Regions from separate parts of the Homo sapiens genome. Here all the other regions are linked to region 5. The links are contacts of gene promoters, found by promoter capture Hi-C in blood cells and fetal thymus (Javierre and others, 2016). All regions are on one chromosome and are shown on one strand. Each heading gives the region's core, a stretch centred on a gene start or on the middle of the fragment in contact. The rest is flanking DNA. Distances are from core to core; before and after follow the strand shown.

Evidence for each region. The method cuts DNA at HindIII sites, captures the fragments that hold promoters and counts their contacts. A CHiCAGO score of 5 or more calls a contact.
Region 1: a contact is called between a fragment that was not itself captured here and the fragment with the promoter of G6PD in region 5, in 3 of 17 cell types (fetal thymus, total B cells and megakaryocytes). The highest score is 6.2, in fetal thymus.
Region 2: a contact is called between a fragment that was not itself captured here and the fragment with the promoter of G6PD in region 5, in 4 of 17 cell types (total B cells, activated CD4 T cells, total CD8 T cells and 1 more). The highest score is 8.2, in total B cells.
Region 3: a fragment that was not itself captured here is called in contact with the fragment with the promoter of G6PD in region 5 in 3 of 17 cell types (total CD4 T cells, naive CD8 T cells and naive B cells); the score reaches 6.8 in total CD4 T cells.
Region 4: a fragment that was not itself captured here is called in contact with the fragment with the promoter of G6PD in region 5 in 6 of 17 cell types (total CD8 T cells, non-activated CD4 T cells, naive CD8 T cells and 3 more); the score reaches 9.2 in total CD8 T cells.

Annotation. Positions count from the first base shown.
Region 1 is chrX:154,839,832-154,842,531 of GRCh38, forward strand. The region is part of intron 25 of F8 (coagulation factor VIII); the gene reads right to left. Among named protein-coding and RNA genes, the nearest start is that of SMIM9, 6.5 kb to the left of the region's middle. The HindIII fragment of the contact is 732 bases long and covers 988-1,719 here.
Region 2 is chrX:154,093,423-154,096,122 of GRCh38, forward strand. All of the region lies in intron 1 of MECP2 (methyl-CpG binding protein 2), which reads right to left. Among named protein-coding and RNA genes, the nearest start is that of MECP2, 2.9 kb to the right of the region's middle. The HindIII fragment of the contact is 989 bases long and covers 822-1,810 here.
Region 3 is chrX:154,122,842-154,125,541 of GRCh38, forward strand. No RefSeq gene overlaps it. Among named protein-coding and RNA genes, the nearest start is that of OPN1LW, 20 kb to the right of the region's middle. The HindIII fragment of the contact is 1,815 bases long and covers 506-2,320 here.
Region 4 is chrX:154,052,109-154,054,808 of GRCh38, forward strand. The region is part of intron 1 of MECP2 (methyl-CpG binding protein 2); the gene reads right to left. Among named protein-coding and RNA genes, the nearest start is that of MIR718, 33 kb to the left of the region's middle. The HindIII fragment of the contact is 7,842 bases long and covers 1-2,700 here.
Region 5 is chrX:154,545,396-154,548,095 of GRCh38, forward strand. G6PD (glucose-6-phosphate dehydrogenase) reads right to left here and starts at 1,451. Exons shown (of 13, transcript NM_001360016.2): 1 at 1,394-1,451; 2 at 641-768. The coding sequence starts at 760. It overlaps IKBKG (inhibitor of nuclear factor kappa B kinase regulatory subunit gamma), which reads left to right and starts at 2,225. Exons shown (of 10, transcript NM_001099857.5): 1 at 2,225-2,350. RefSeq lists enhancers at 487-1,030, 2,333-2,612 and a silencer at 1,333-1,892. The HindIII fragment of the contact is 7,888 bases long and covers 1-2,700 here.

The sequences.
Region 1 (2,700 bases), core at 104-2,603, 290 kb after region 5:
CTTCAGCACATAGAATATATAGCATAATGTATATAGCATGGCAAATATACCATAAACATCTATAGAAATAAAGTTCTGTATTTGGAAAAATTTTTGAGAAACATTAAGGTCCCTGTTCTGAGATTATTTTACAAATGTTTACGCTGTATTTGGAGGCTTTGTACATCTTTTGTTAGACTTAATCCTTACTGCATTAAATCAGGGGGCATGCGATGCCAGATTGTCCCATTATTGATGATGCTAAGTTTGATCACTTGGTTAAGATGTCCACCTAATCTCTATATTTATAAAGGTAACCCTTTCCCTTTCCTAACAATCTGTGGAGTGAGACTTTGAGACCATGCAAATATTCTGTTTCACAACAAGCTTTTATCCAATGGTATTAGCAACCCTTAAAGTTCTTTACAAGTATTCAATAGTAAGTACATTGATGGTTGCAAACTGATTTTCCAGTTATGATCCATTACCCTCATTATTCCTTTTGATGCTCAAATTGTCTCAAATCTGGCCAACAGGAAGCCCTTCAGACCAGTTTCTGTGTTCTTTTCACATGATCCCATTAATCTTCTGGCACATCAAGATCACCAAGATCATCTAAGATTGCCTGGCAGTTTCCTTGATCCAGCCTTGAAAAAGTCATTTCTCTAGGGAGCTCAGATTCTTTTGACTGGAAAATGGTAGTTAGAGACCAAGATTTGGGCATGGGATGGGCTCGTTATTACTGCAGTGTAATTACTTCTAGATTCCCTCAGTGAACAGTGCTAAGAATATGATTTTTTAAATTCCTAAGTTCTCACTGACACTTCTAATTCAACTCTAACATTCTTTTTGTTAGTATTAGATTTCTAGGGCTACTGTAACAAATTCACCACACACTTGGTGCCTTTAAAACAAAAGAAATTTATTCACTTATCGTTCTAGAGGCTTAAAGTCTGGAGCCTGGAGCAGAGGCACAAAAGAGTGTGTCAAACACAAAATCACATTTAAAGCTTCTATTTGGAAGTGGTATATATGTCATGTCCAATCACATTCTATTGATCAAGATGAGCCGTACGGCCATGCCTAAAGTTGATGAGGTTTTCAAGGAAAGAGGGAATAAAAACTCAAGAACATTAATACCATCTGCTTCATATGCTATTTTCTGTTCATTTAGAAATTCCTTACATTTTCTTGTTTCAGCAATAAGAGGTGATTTATGCAGGCAGACATGAGGGCTGGGTGGCTTACTAGGTTTCTTAGCCAGGAGTACCCTCTACTGTTGATAAATGGAAGTGTAATTTATTTAATAGATGTGACCAAAGAGGTTTGTGGGTCTTGTGATTTAGTAATTCACTTTTGTTTTTATAGGACAGTTAATTTCCAACATTTGCTTTCTTCTTTTTTTTTTTTTTTTTTTTTTTGAGACAGGGTTTCTCTCTGGAGCAAGGTTGGCTAGATTTATATATTTATTTTCTACTTGTAAATATAAACTTATAGTACTTTTTGTCTTCTGGTTATTCTATAGATGGGTTATGGGTGGTTTTAGTCATAATTTAAAATTGTGTGTGTATGTGTATGTATGGTTTTTGAAGACTGTGGAGAGATTTAGGCAGCTGCCATTATCTGACAGGAATGTGCAACTCCTGCTTGGAATTTTTAAATGCTATTTAAAACTATTTTTCCAACTGTTTCAGGTATACAGAAATACAATTAATTTTGGTATTTATTTTGTTTTCAGCAAGCTTGAAAAATTTTAAAAATTCTAATAATTTATATATAAATTCCTTTGGATTTTCTATCTATGCCATCATATCTTCCACATACAATGAGTTTGTTTCATCATATTCAATCCTTACATATTTTCCTTCTTTTTCTCATCTTATTGCACTGCTTAGGACAGCCAATATGTATAATCCTTCAGTCTGTCACTGTGATAAATTATATCAGTTTTCTAATGTATAAGCCAAACTTGCATTCCTAGCATAAATCCAATTTGGATCCATATTGCTAATATTTTGTTTGGGATTTATGTTTATGAATAAAACGGGCCTATTATCTTCCTTTCTAATATTGTTCTTGTTCGGTTTGGTTGTCAAGGTTATGCTATTATCATAAGATAATTGAATAACATTCCATCTTTTTCCATTTTCTGAAAGAATTTTTGCAAGGTTAATATTATTTCTCCTTTGAAAAATTGGTAGAATATAGTTAGTGTAGCCATCTGGATCTGGATTTTTTAAATTAATAACCTTTTAACACTAAGTTTGGAAAATTAGGTAAAATGGATTAATCCCTGGTAAATACAACAAGAAAGAACATTTAATATTAATAAGTATCCTCATTTTTTATATTTTTATATTGGCAGAAATTTTTGTGGGATCTTTATTGATGTCCAGTTTTTTAAAGTTTCTGATATTATTTGTGCCTTCTTTTCATCTTGATTGCTCTTGCCAGAAGTTTGTCAATTTTCAAGGAACCAACTTTTGGTTTTCTTTATTCTCTCTATTGTATGTTTCTTTTTTACTTCATTTACTTCATATCTTTATTATTTCCTTGCTTCTACTTCCTTTTGGTTTATTTTGCTGTTTCACTAGCTTCTTGAGACATACCTTAGCTCATTAATTGTCAGGCTTTCTTCTCTTCCAATATATGTTTTTAACGCTATACATTTCTTTCTAAATATTGCTTTAGCTGATTCCCACATTTTAATATGTCATGCCT
Region 2 (2,700 bases), core at 66-2,565, 450 kb before region 5:
TGTAAACTGATGGTGCTGGACTAAGAATCCTTCTAGTTCTTAAAGTTTAAGATAATTAACTTAAGATTTCATGTCAAAAAGAAAAGAGCCAGAGGCTGGGTGCGGTGGCTCACGCCTGTAATCCCTGCACTTTGGGAGGCTGAAGCGGGTGGATCACGAGGTCAGGAGTTCAAGACCAGCGTGGCCAAGATGGTGAAACCCCGTCTCGACTAAAAAAAAAAAAAAAAAAAAAAAAAAATACAAAAATTAGCCAGGCGTGGTGGCAGGTGCCTGTAATCCCAGCTACTTGGGAGGCTGAGGCAGAGAACTGCTTGAGCCCGGGAGGCAGAGGTTGCAGTGAGCTGAGATCGTGCCACTGCACTCCAGCATGGGTGACAGAGTGAGACTGTCTCAAAAAAAAAAAAAAAAAAAGAAAGAAAGAAAAGAGAAAATGAGAGCAGTTTATGAAATCTAAAAAAGAAAGTTAATATATATATAAAACACCCCTAGCTCTTGGGCTAGGAAGACAAGTGCATCCTTACTAAGGCTTGGTCCTGTCAACTTCAGAGGCAATAATGAGAGCCCAGACTACAGTGTCTACAGTAACTGCAAAACAGCCACACAGCACAGCGGGAACACATTCACACGCCAGGAGACCCAGCATACATGTGCTTGAAGAAGTTATAAGACTCAGGCTTTATTCTCTAACGAAATGGTCATTCCCCCTTTGATGTGGGGGTGGGGGTGGGGATGCCCTGCCCACCCCCCAATTCCGGCTCCCACTCAGTTATCCCACATACCATACATACCATCAAAGTATTTAAGCAATGGCATGCAAAGCAAGCTTTCGACAGGTTTCTTGCAAGAGAAAGGCAGAAGAGAACAGGTAAAAGCAGAAGAGCACACAGGTAAAAGCAGAAGAGCACAACTTCTACTTAAGCCCAAAGAAGAGGGACCTGTTCACATCTTGTCCTACCCGGAATGATGCACACGCACAGGGGCTTGCCGGGACAGCAGTAGTTTCACTGGAAAGGGCTGGTATGGAGGCACCGAGGACAAGGTCCTTCCATCGCAGCGGTGATAATGCTCTACCCAAGAAAAAAAGATTGCGTCTGCCAGCCACGCAAGACTGGTCTGCAAGGATGTCACCATAGCAGAGGGCAGGGAAAACAAGCAGGTGTCCTGCCACACTCTTTGGGACTGGCCAGTCTAGGAGTGTGCTTTACCCCACGCACTGAAAACACTGGTTACTAGAAATATCAAACATTTCCTGTGATTCTCTCCTCCAAGATAACTCGGGCAGCTTGAGAACAAGCTGCTCTTAGCTAATTAAAAGATTTCTGCTGATATTAACCTTTATAAAAGATTTCAGGTTCCAGGACACGTCATTTATCATGCAGAGTCCCAAGCAGGTACATTAGCAATGGAAACCAGGCTCCAATAAGGAACTAACAATTTTATCTCTGTTGTTCTTTATTTTAGGTTAAAGAAATGAACTTCTCGTTTCATCTCCACATGGGAGGAATGTTCTGGAGGGGGTAACAGCCTATTAAACTCATCTAGCTTTTTTTTTTTTTTTTCAAACTCCACAGCTTGCCTCCCTACCCTACTAGACTAGATTGCACAGAGGCAGGGCAGGCACGGGAAACGACTCTGGTTGGAAATTACAAACATATACACACAGAATGCAAGCACCATAACCCTTTGAATACACAGTGGTTTGTGCCTTGCCCCAGACCTACCTAAGGATTTAAACAGCACAGAAGTCGGAGTTCGGCTGACTGCATGACACTCTCCTATCAATCGGGTGAAACAAAGACCCAGTACTCTAAGCTTAAAGCATTCCAGGCAAAATTTTAGTTAACAGGCAATAGGAAGGTGTGATAGGCCAGTGCTAACAAGAAAGCCACAGATGGGTTTCTTTGAGCTGTTAAGACACTGGAAAGGGCTGGTATGGAAGCCCAGTGGAGCCATTAGGACAATGGAAAAGGAGGTACCCCTCCACCAGGCACTTTGCAGAGAAAACTATACTCTGGAAGCTGCCTGCACTGTTGATAGGGCTAGACGTATGATAAACAGCTAACCGGAGGGGCACCCGAGGAGACAAACTGCCAACTATGAAGAACAAAGCAGAGACCTCAACTTGTCACGTCTCAAGCTCAGATGTACAAACTTTGGGATCGTCAAGTGAGGCTCGTGTGTATGCCTGGGGATATGACTGTATTCCAGTGATCAGCCACCTAGCTGACCTGCCACGAATGGGTGACCTGTGGTGACTTACTTTAATCAACTGTAGTACTTCTAGATTGATTGGGTGATTTAAGGTTCTGACATATTCAGGCAAGAAAATAAAAGCAAGTGTTTCCTAGACTTCCTCATTGGGATTTGAAATAGAAATCCTGAAAAGCCCATAAAAGCCTATTTCCCTAAATCCTTGGTGGAAATTCCCAAAAGATTAAAAAATCCAGACCCTGTCTTATTATAGGGACCCAGCAGATTTCAAAAGACTCAAGAGGTCAGCTTAATCTGGTTATTAACTGAAATTGCTGAGATACTGATGAACATTCCAGCCATGGAACCCAAAATTCTCTAGAGTAATAATTACCTATTAGTGCAATGTTACTACTGAGGCCGTATATGCTTCATTTTTACAGTATAACAAAATGTCTAAAACTTATGAGAGTCCTACAACGTCTAGGCCACTCAGTATCACATCCAAGT
Region 3 (2,700 bases), core at 163-2,662, 420 kb before region 5:
CACTTAAACCCAGGAGTTTGAGGCTGGAGTCAGCTATAATCATGCCACTACACTCCAGCCTGCGTGACGGAGCAAGACCTTGTCCCTAAATTTTTTTTTAAATTAAAAAAAAAAAGACGATCCTGCTGGGTGATGGTGGCTTTTTTTCTGTACAGCTAGAACTAGAGTAAAGGGGAGGAGTTTCCCCCAAAGGATACTTTTGCCCATTTGCAAAGGAAATGAATGAATGAAGATGCTGAGGCTCTCCCAGCTGATGGAACCACTATTCTGATTGATTGGCTTCAAAGACTCACCAGAGAAAAACATTTTAAAATGTAGGGCCAAACCTCTGATACTATAAAAGTGCTGGCCTTTTAAGACAAACTCTCAAAGTTAGAGTTTCCCCACGGTGAGAATCTCTCCACACAGTTGGGGACTGGGCAGCTACCCCAGCTGGGCACTAGAGGCCTGGGCCACCCTCACACCCTGGTCAGTGGTAGCACGGGGGCTGCCAGACCTCATCAAAAGCTTGACTTTTCTTTGACTTCCAGGAGGAGGAACCCTGTGAGGCACTGCTCCACTCCCTGCATGGTTGAGGACAGGTGGGAGAGGGGAGGCTACAATCAGGCTTCAAGGTTATTAGGATGGGCCGGGCGCGGTGGCTCACGCCTGTTATCCCAGCACTTTGGGAGGCCAAGGTGCGCGGATCACTTGAGGTCGGGAGTTCGAGACCAGCCCGGCCAACATGGTGAAACTGCTTCTCTACTAAAAATACAAACATTAGCCGGGCGTGGTGGTGAGCACCTGTAATCCCAGCTACTCGGGAGGCTGAGGAGGCTGAGGCAAGACAATCGCTTGAACCTGGGAGGCGGAGCTTGCAGTGAGCTGAGATCATGCCACTGCACTCCAACCTGGGCAACAGAGAGAGACTCCGTCTCCAAAAAAAAAAAAAGAAAAAGAAAAAAGGAGAAACGGTTATTAGGATGGTCCTGGGATGGAGAGAACCAGGGACAGTAAGGGCCTGGCCAGGGTAGGGCAGCTGCTGCAGGAACAGCAACCCAGCAACTGGCCACACAGAGGGCGAGTGACCCCTGGGCGGACTGATGGGCCACACCACAGGCCACACCACGGACCACAGGCCACACCCAGAGAGCTAGTCCTGGGGCAGGGAGCGCCTCTGAGCAGGAAATGACAGAGGAAGTTTCTGGTGCAGCTTTACTGATAAGGAAACAAACAAAGACTGTGTGATAGCAATCAGAAAACATTTCAGTCAAGCAGAGTGGAAGGAAGACTGCTTTATCTTTCTGTTCCCTCTAGTGAGAATTATGTCACAATATCATTGTCAGATGAAGATGCGATCTAACACTATGCAGCCAAAATGTGGGGAAAAAAGATAACACAGGTAGCTTCAGTACAAAATATAATAGGAACAAAAACATTGTACTTTGCTGCCTTTTGTTGTATTTGTCAGCTTTTTAAAATTTGTAATTTGTTGTGATTTCTTATCTTTTTCTAAATGAATGGACACATTTGCAAGTGATTTAGTATTCTTAAAGAGGAACCCTAAATTATATAAATTTTGGTCTCTATACAATGTGGGTTTTCCTTCCTATATACATGGTAACCTGTTTAGAAATTTTAATTAAATTAAATAAGTTGAAGTTGTGGGGAACAAATCATCATGTTATCTCTTTTCTGTGCACAAAAGTCGTTTTTAAATACTGGAATGGGGCGGGGTGTGGTGCCTCATGCCTGTAACCCCAGCACTTTGGGAAGCTGAGGCAGGTGGATCATCTGAGGTTGGGAGTTTGAGACTAGCCTGGCCAACATGGCAAAACTGGGTCTCTACCAAAGATACAAAAATTATCCGGGCATGGTGGGGTGCACCTGTAGTCCCAGCTACTCAGGAGGCTGAGGCAAGAGAATCGCTTGAACCCGGGAGGCGGAGGTTGCAGTGAGCCGAGATTGCACCAGTGCACCCAAGCCTGGGCAACAGAGAAAGACTCTGTCTCAAAATAAATAAATAAATAAATAAATATTGCAATGGGAAAAGAGAAAAATAAATCATAGAATTTTGGGATATTACACTTTAACAAGTTAAATCAAAACATTTATAAATAGCCATATAAAACCAACCATATAAAACCAGGCTATTAGTAAAAATCTAAATGGTCGTCCTGCTTCCTAAATGTACTCTTTCTCTCAAAAAGTTTTTGGATGAGAGAACATGGAAAACTGGGGATTTTTCCTCCACTGTTACAATGTCCTGCTTGCTCAGTCACAGGATAAGAAACAAGGAAACGCATATTGCTATCAGGCCCAAATTGAACAGTCATGAAGAAGCTTCAGGAATCTCTACTGTGTTAAATACACTTACTAATATTGAAAGGGCTTTATCAACACAGAAGATAGAGAGAGAGGCAGAACAGCATGGCCAAATAGAAGCCTCCAGTGATCATCCCCACTGCGGGAACACCAAATTGAACAACTAGCCACACAAAAAAGCACTTTCCTAATATCCAAAAATCAGGTGAGCGATCACAGGACCTGGTTGAACTTCACATCACTGAAAGAGGCCGTGACAAGGGTAGGAAGGACAGTCTTGAATCACTCCCCGCCCCGCGCCCCAGCCTCAGCCCCGGCACCCCCCACCCCCAGCCCCCGCTCCGCAGCAGCCTCGTGGTGCAGAGAGAGAAGCTGTACACTTGGGGGAGGGAGGGC
Region 4 (2,700 bases), core at 201-2,700, 490 kb before region 5:
GTCAAGGACCACACCTGGTTTAACTCCCAGTGAAGAGTTTTAGCCAGTAAAGAGCTGCAAGAAGGAAATCACACACCACGAAGAGGCCACTAAGATAAACGCTTGAATCTGATTAAGTTTTCACCTGAAAAGTGTGGGTAAGGACAAGCCTGCCTTGTTGGGTAGTACAGATTCAGTGAATGAGCCCTCAGATCCTGCTGGATCCCGTGATCAGATAAACAGCAGCTTCTCAGGAACCACTGCATGTGAGGTTAGGGTGAGGGGAGGGACCCGATGGAGATCTAATCCCAGGGGTTTGGTCACAGGGGCTGGCGAATGAGAGGTGGAGACCGGGAACATACGCCACTTTTTTTTTTTTTTTTTTTTTTTTTGAGACGGGGTCTCACTGTGTCACCCAGGCTGGAGTGCAGTGGCACCATCTTGGCTCACTGCAACCTCCGCCCCCCAGGTTCAAGCGATTCTCCTGCCTCAGCCACCCAAGTAGCTGGGATTACAGGCGCCTGCCACTGCGCCTGGCTAGTTTTTCTATTTTTAGTAGAGACGGGGTTTCACCATCTCGGCCAGGCTGGTTTTGAACTCCTGACCTCGTGATCCACCCACCTCGGCCTCCCACAGTGCGGGGATTACAGGCGTGAGCCACTGCGCCCGGCCAGCCACTCTTTTTTTTTGAGATGGAGTTTCGCTCTTGTTGGCCGGGCTGGAATGCAATGGCACGATCTCGGCTCACTGCACCCTCCATCTCCCAGGTTCAAGTGATTCTCCTGGCTCAGCCTCCCAAGTAGCTGGGATTACAGGCATGCGCCACCACGCCCAGCTAATTTTGTATTTTTAGTAGGGACGGGATTTCTCCATGTTGGTCAGGCTGGTCTTGAACTCCTGACCTCAGGTGATCCACCTGCCTTGGCCTCCCAAAGTGCTGGGATTACAGGCATGAGCCACCAGGCCCAGCCTAAGCCACTCTTTTGGAAAGCTCAGCAGAGAAGATGCATGAGGTAATACGACGCGTTAGGTGGCCTTTAAAGGGATGTTTATAGCTTTTCATAACATGGGTGTATTAGTCTGCTCAAGCTATAACAAAATAGTACAGACTGGGGGGCCTATTCAACTGAAATTTCTCACAGTTCTGGAGGCTAGAAGTCCAAGATCAAGGTGTCAGCACATTCAGCCCCTGGTGAGGGCTCTCTTTCTGACTTGGAGATGGCTGCCTTCTCATTGCATACTCACATGGTGGAGAAAGCAAGCTCTCTGCTGTCTCTTGTTATAAGGACACTAATCTCATCATGCGAAACCCACCCTCCCTCCTGATTTCATCTAAACCTAACCACCTCTCAAATACCCCATCTCCAAATAACATCACATTGGAGGTTTGAGCTTCAACACTGGAATTTTGGGGGACACAAACATTCAGTCCATAACAGTGCTGATGTTTATGTTTTAATGTTAAATGATAACAGCACAGCACAGCAGCACACACACTGTGTGATGCCAATCTGTTTGTTTGTTTGTTTGTTTGTTTTTTTAGATAGGTTCTCACTCTGTTGCCTGGGCTATAGCAGTAGTGTGATCACACCTCACTGCAACCTCGACCTCCAGGTTCAAGCAATCCTCCCACCTCAGCCTCTCAAAGTGCTGGGATTCCAGGCATGAGCCACCATGCCTGGCCTCCAATTTGTATTTAATGCCACTGAACTGTACATTTAAAAATGGTAAATTTTAGGTGATGTGTATTTTACTACAATTTTTTTAAAAGTCTAAGAGAAGGCAAGAAAGGAGAAGGAAAATTTAAAAGAACAGAAAATATGGAAAAATAGAATGCACAAATATGCTATAAATGAATCTAAATACATCAGAAATCAAATAGATGTTAAAGGACGAAACAGACAATGGATTTTTTAAAAAATCTCGAGGCCGGGTGCGGTGGCTCACGCCTGTAATCCCAGCACTTTGGGAGGCTGAGGCGGGCGGATCACGAGGTCAGGAGATCGAGACCATCCTGGCTGACACGGTGAAACCCCGTCTCTACTAAAAATACAAAAAAAAAAAAAAAAAAAAAATCAGCCACGCGTGGTGGCGGGCACCTGTAGTCCCAGCTACTCTGGAGGCTGAAGCAGGAGAATGGCATGAACCCGGGGGGCGGAGCTTGCAGTGAGCCGAGATCGCGCCACCGCACTCCAGCCTGGGCGACAGAGCAAGACTCCGTCTCAAAAAAAAAAAAAAAAAAAAAATCTAGCTATCAGCTGGGCATGGTGGCTCACGTCTGTAATTCCAACACTTTGGGAGGCTGAGGCGGGTGATCAGCTGAGGTGAGGAGTTTGAGACCAGCCTGGCCAACATGGTGAAACCACATCTCTACTAAAAATACAAAATTAGCCGGGTGTGGTGGCACGTGCCTGTAGTCCCAGCTACTCAGGAGGCTGCGGCAGGAGAATTGTTTTGAACCTGGGAGGTGGAGGTTGCAGTGAGCCGAGATCACGCCATTGCACTCCAGCCTGGGCAACAAGAGCAAAACTCCGTCTCAAAAAAAAAAAATCTAGCTATCTGACATTTTCAAAAGCTCCACCTCACTGATGCATAAAGACACAGAAAGGAGGAAAATAAAAAACTGGGATGGCCGGGCGTGGTGGCTCACACCTGTAATCCCAACACTTTTAGAGGCCAAGGCTGGTGAACTGCTTGAGCCCAGGAGTTTGAGACCAGTCT
Region 5 (2,700 bases), core at 201-2,700:
CATTTGTTAAGGCATGAACAGGTCTGAAAAAACTACAGAATGAATAGCATTCCCTGTTTTCCCCAAGAAGTCCATCTAGACAGTCCCTAAAGAGCCTGCAACTCCAGGATTAAGGGCTACATTCAGCGGCTAGGCACAGGGTTCAGAAACGTCCTGCAGCCGGGCGTGGTGGCTCATGCCTGTCATCCCAGCACTTTGGGAGGCCGAGGCGGGCGGATCACTTGAGGTCAGGAGTTTGAGACCAGCCTGGTCAACATGGTGAAACTCCGTCTCTACTAACAATACAAAAATTAGCCGGGTGTGGTGGTGCATGCCTGTAATCTCAGCTACTTGGGGGGCTGAGGCAGGAGAATCGCTTGAACCCAGGAGGCCGAGGTTGCAGTGAGCCAAGATGGCGCCACTGCACCCCATCCTGGGCGACCAGAGCAAAACTCCGTCTCCAAAAAAAAAAAAAAAAAAAAGTCTTGCAAGTGCATATGCACACCAGGTAGAGCCGGGATGATCCTGGCGCACTAGCAGGAGCGGGAGGAGGAGCTCAACTTAGCAGAGCCTGTGGGGCCCTGCAACAATTAGTTGGAAAAGCTGAGGCATGGAGCAGGCACTTCCTGGCTTTTAAGATTGGGGCCTGGGAGATACTCACCGATGCACCCATGATGATGAATATGTGTGTATCCGACTGATGGAAGGCATCGCCCTGGAAAAGCTCTTCCCGCAGGATCCCGCACACCTGGGTCCGGCTCAGGGCCACCTGCTCTGCCATGACGCTGTCTGGTGGAAGAAAGGCTCGTTAACAAGGCAGAAGAACAGGAGAGCATTGAGAAGTTAGCCCCTTTCTTGAGAGTTCCTCTGGGGTCTCACACCAGGGTGACACCTGATTGCCCAAATCACTCCTTGTGAACGGCTGGGCATTGGGGAGTGGTTGATGGGTTAGAAACTGCTGGCTCTGGGCTCCAGCCACTCTCTCCTAGGCAGCCTTCATTCAGGGTGTACATTACAAAATTACTCAAAGCATTGGTGTATTCCGACTACAGCATCAATTCTGGACAACCGAGTAAAATCCTTGTGGGGCATGGAACTGCGTGCCCAGGACCATCTCATTCCCGACTGTAGCGGGAACTCCACAATGACCTGGAGCATGGGAGATGGTGCAGATGCTGGAGTTCAGCTCCAGCCCTCCCCTTGCCAAGCTGGGTGACCCCGGTCGGCAAGTCCCCTTCGCTCTCGGGGTCTCAGGGGCTCAAGAGAGGAGGTGCGGGGTATAAAGGGATTGGTTAAGACCCTCTCGATTCTGCTCGGTTCTCAAGCACAACAAACAGCGTGTATTTTACCGCCGCGCGGCGCAGCGCGGGACAGTACGCTCCTCCGCCTGCGCGGCGCCCGCCCGGCCGGTTACCTGCGCTTCGTCGTCGTCGCCCTCCGCGCTCGCAGCCCCGAAGTGTACGACCGTTTCCGGGGGCTGAGCCCCGCCGGCCCATTTAATCGGCGGGGGCGGGGGCGGGCGCCTGGGCTGAGCGGACCCGCCTCAGGCGAGGCGTGCGGGGCGGGGCCTCGGCCACCACCCCTCGTGCGGGCGGGGCGGGGCGAGGGCAGGTGCGCGCGCATCCCAGGCCAGCCCCTGCCTCTCGGGCACCTGCGCTGGAGGCCGGCCCGCCGGCTGCCTGCCATACCCGCTGCCGCTGCTCTGCATCCCCAATTCCGGCGGGCACGGGTGCAGCTCCGCGTAGTGCTCCCGCATCCCCATCGCCGGCCCGGCCCCGCCCCTACTGTCCGGTTTCCCCGCCTGCCCCGGCGGCCTCGCGCGCTCGCGGAGGGCTCCACTTCCGCCGGCAGCGTGGCCACGCCTCCTCTGGGCTGTCCCTCGGCTCCTGGGCGGGGCCTTCTGCCGCGCCACTCCCCCGGGAACCCTCGCCTGTTCGCGGGTCAAGCCGGCCCTATTGGGCAGTCTCTTCTTGATTCCTCCCCCGGAGAGGGCGGGGCGGCCGAGCGCCCCGAGGCTAGACGCCGCCGTCCGAGAGACGAGGGGGCGTGTAGGCGGTGACGCCCTGCAAAGTGGCCGGCGTGCTTATCATTACCGAGCTTCCGCGGGCCTGCAGAGCCTGGCGGACTCAGACTTCTCTCCGGAGCGGGATGCGGCCCTACCGCGGCCTCACACTTCTCGCCGGCTTCCCGAGTTCTCGGGGGCGGGGCTTGTGTTTTTACTTCCGGATCCCACAGCTATGACACCGGAAGCCGGAAGCGTGGTAGGGAAGGGCGACCGCGAAACTGGGACTTTCTCGGAGCGCCGGGGCCCTACCAGCGTTCACAGTCCGCCGCTCCCACCCTTCTCACGTCTGACGGACTCTGCTGACAGGTGTGGTCCTTTTCCCCAAAGACAGGGTTCCATCCGTGGGCGTTCCGCCGCCTCCGAAACTTCCCCCGGACGTTCAGGCTCCCCCCTCTTTTTTGGGCCCCAGCCCGTTCCTGCTCCGCGCTTCTGGAGCACTGGCCAAGGCGGGCCGATTCAGGACCCAGGTTACTTGGGCGGCGAGCTGGACTGTTTCTACTCCTCCCTCCTCCTCCACTGCGGGGTCTGACCCTACTCCTTGTGTGAGGACTCCTCTAGTTCAGAGACATATTCTGTTCACCAAACTTGACTGCGCTCTATCGAGGTCGTTAAATTCTTCGGAAATGCCTCACATATAGTTTGGCAGCTAGGTATCT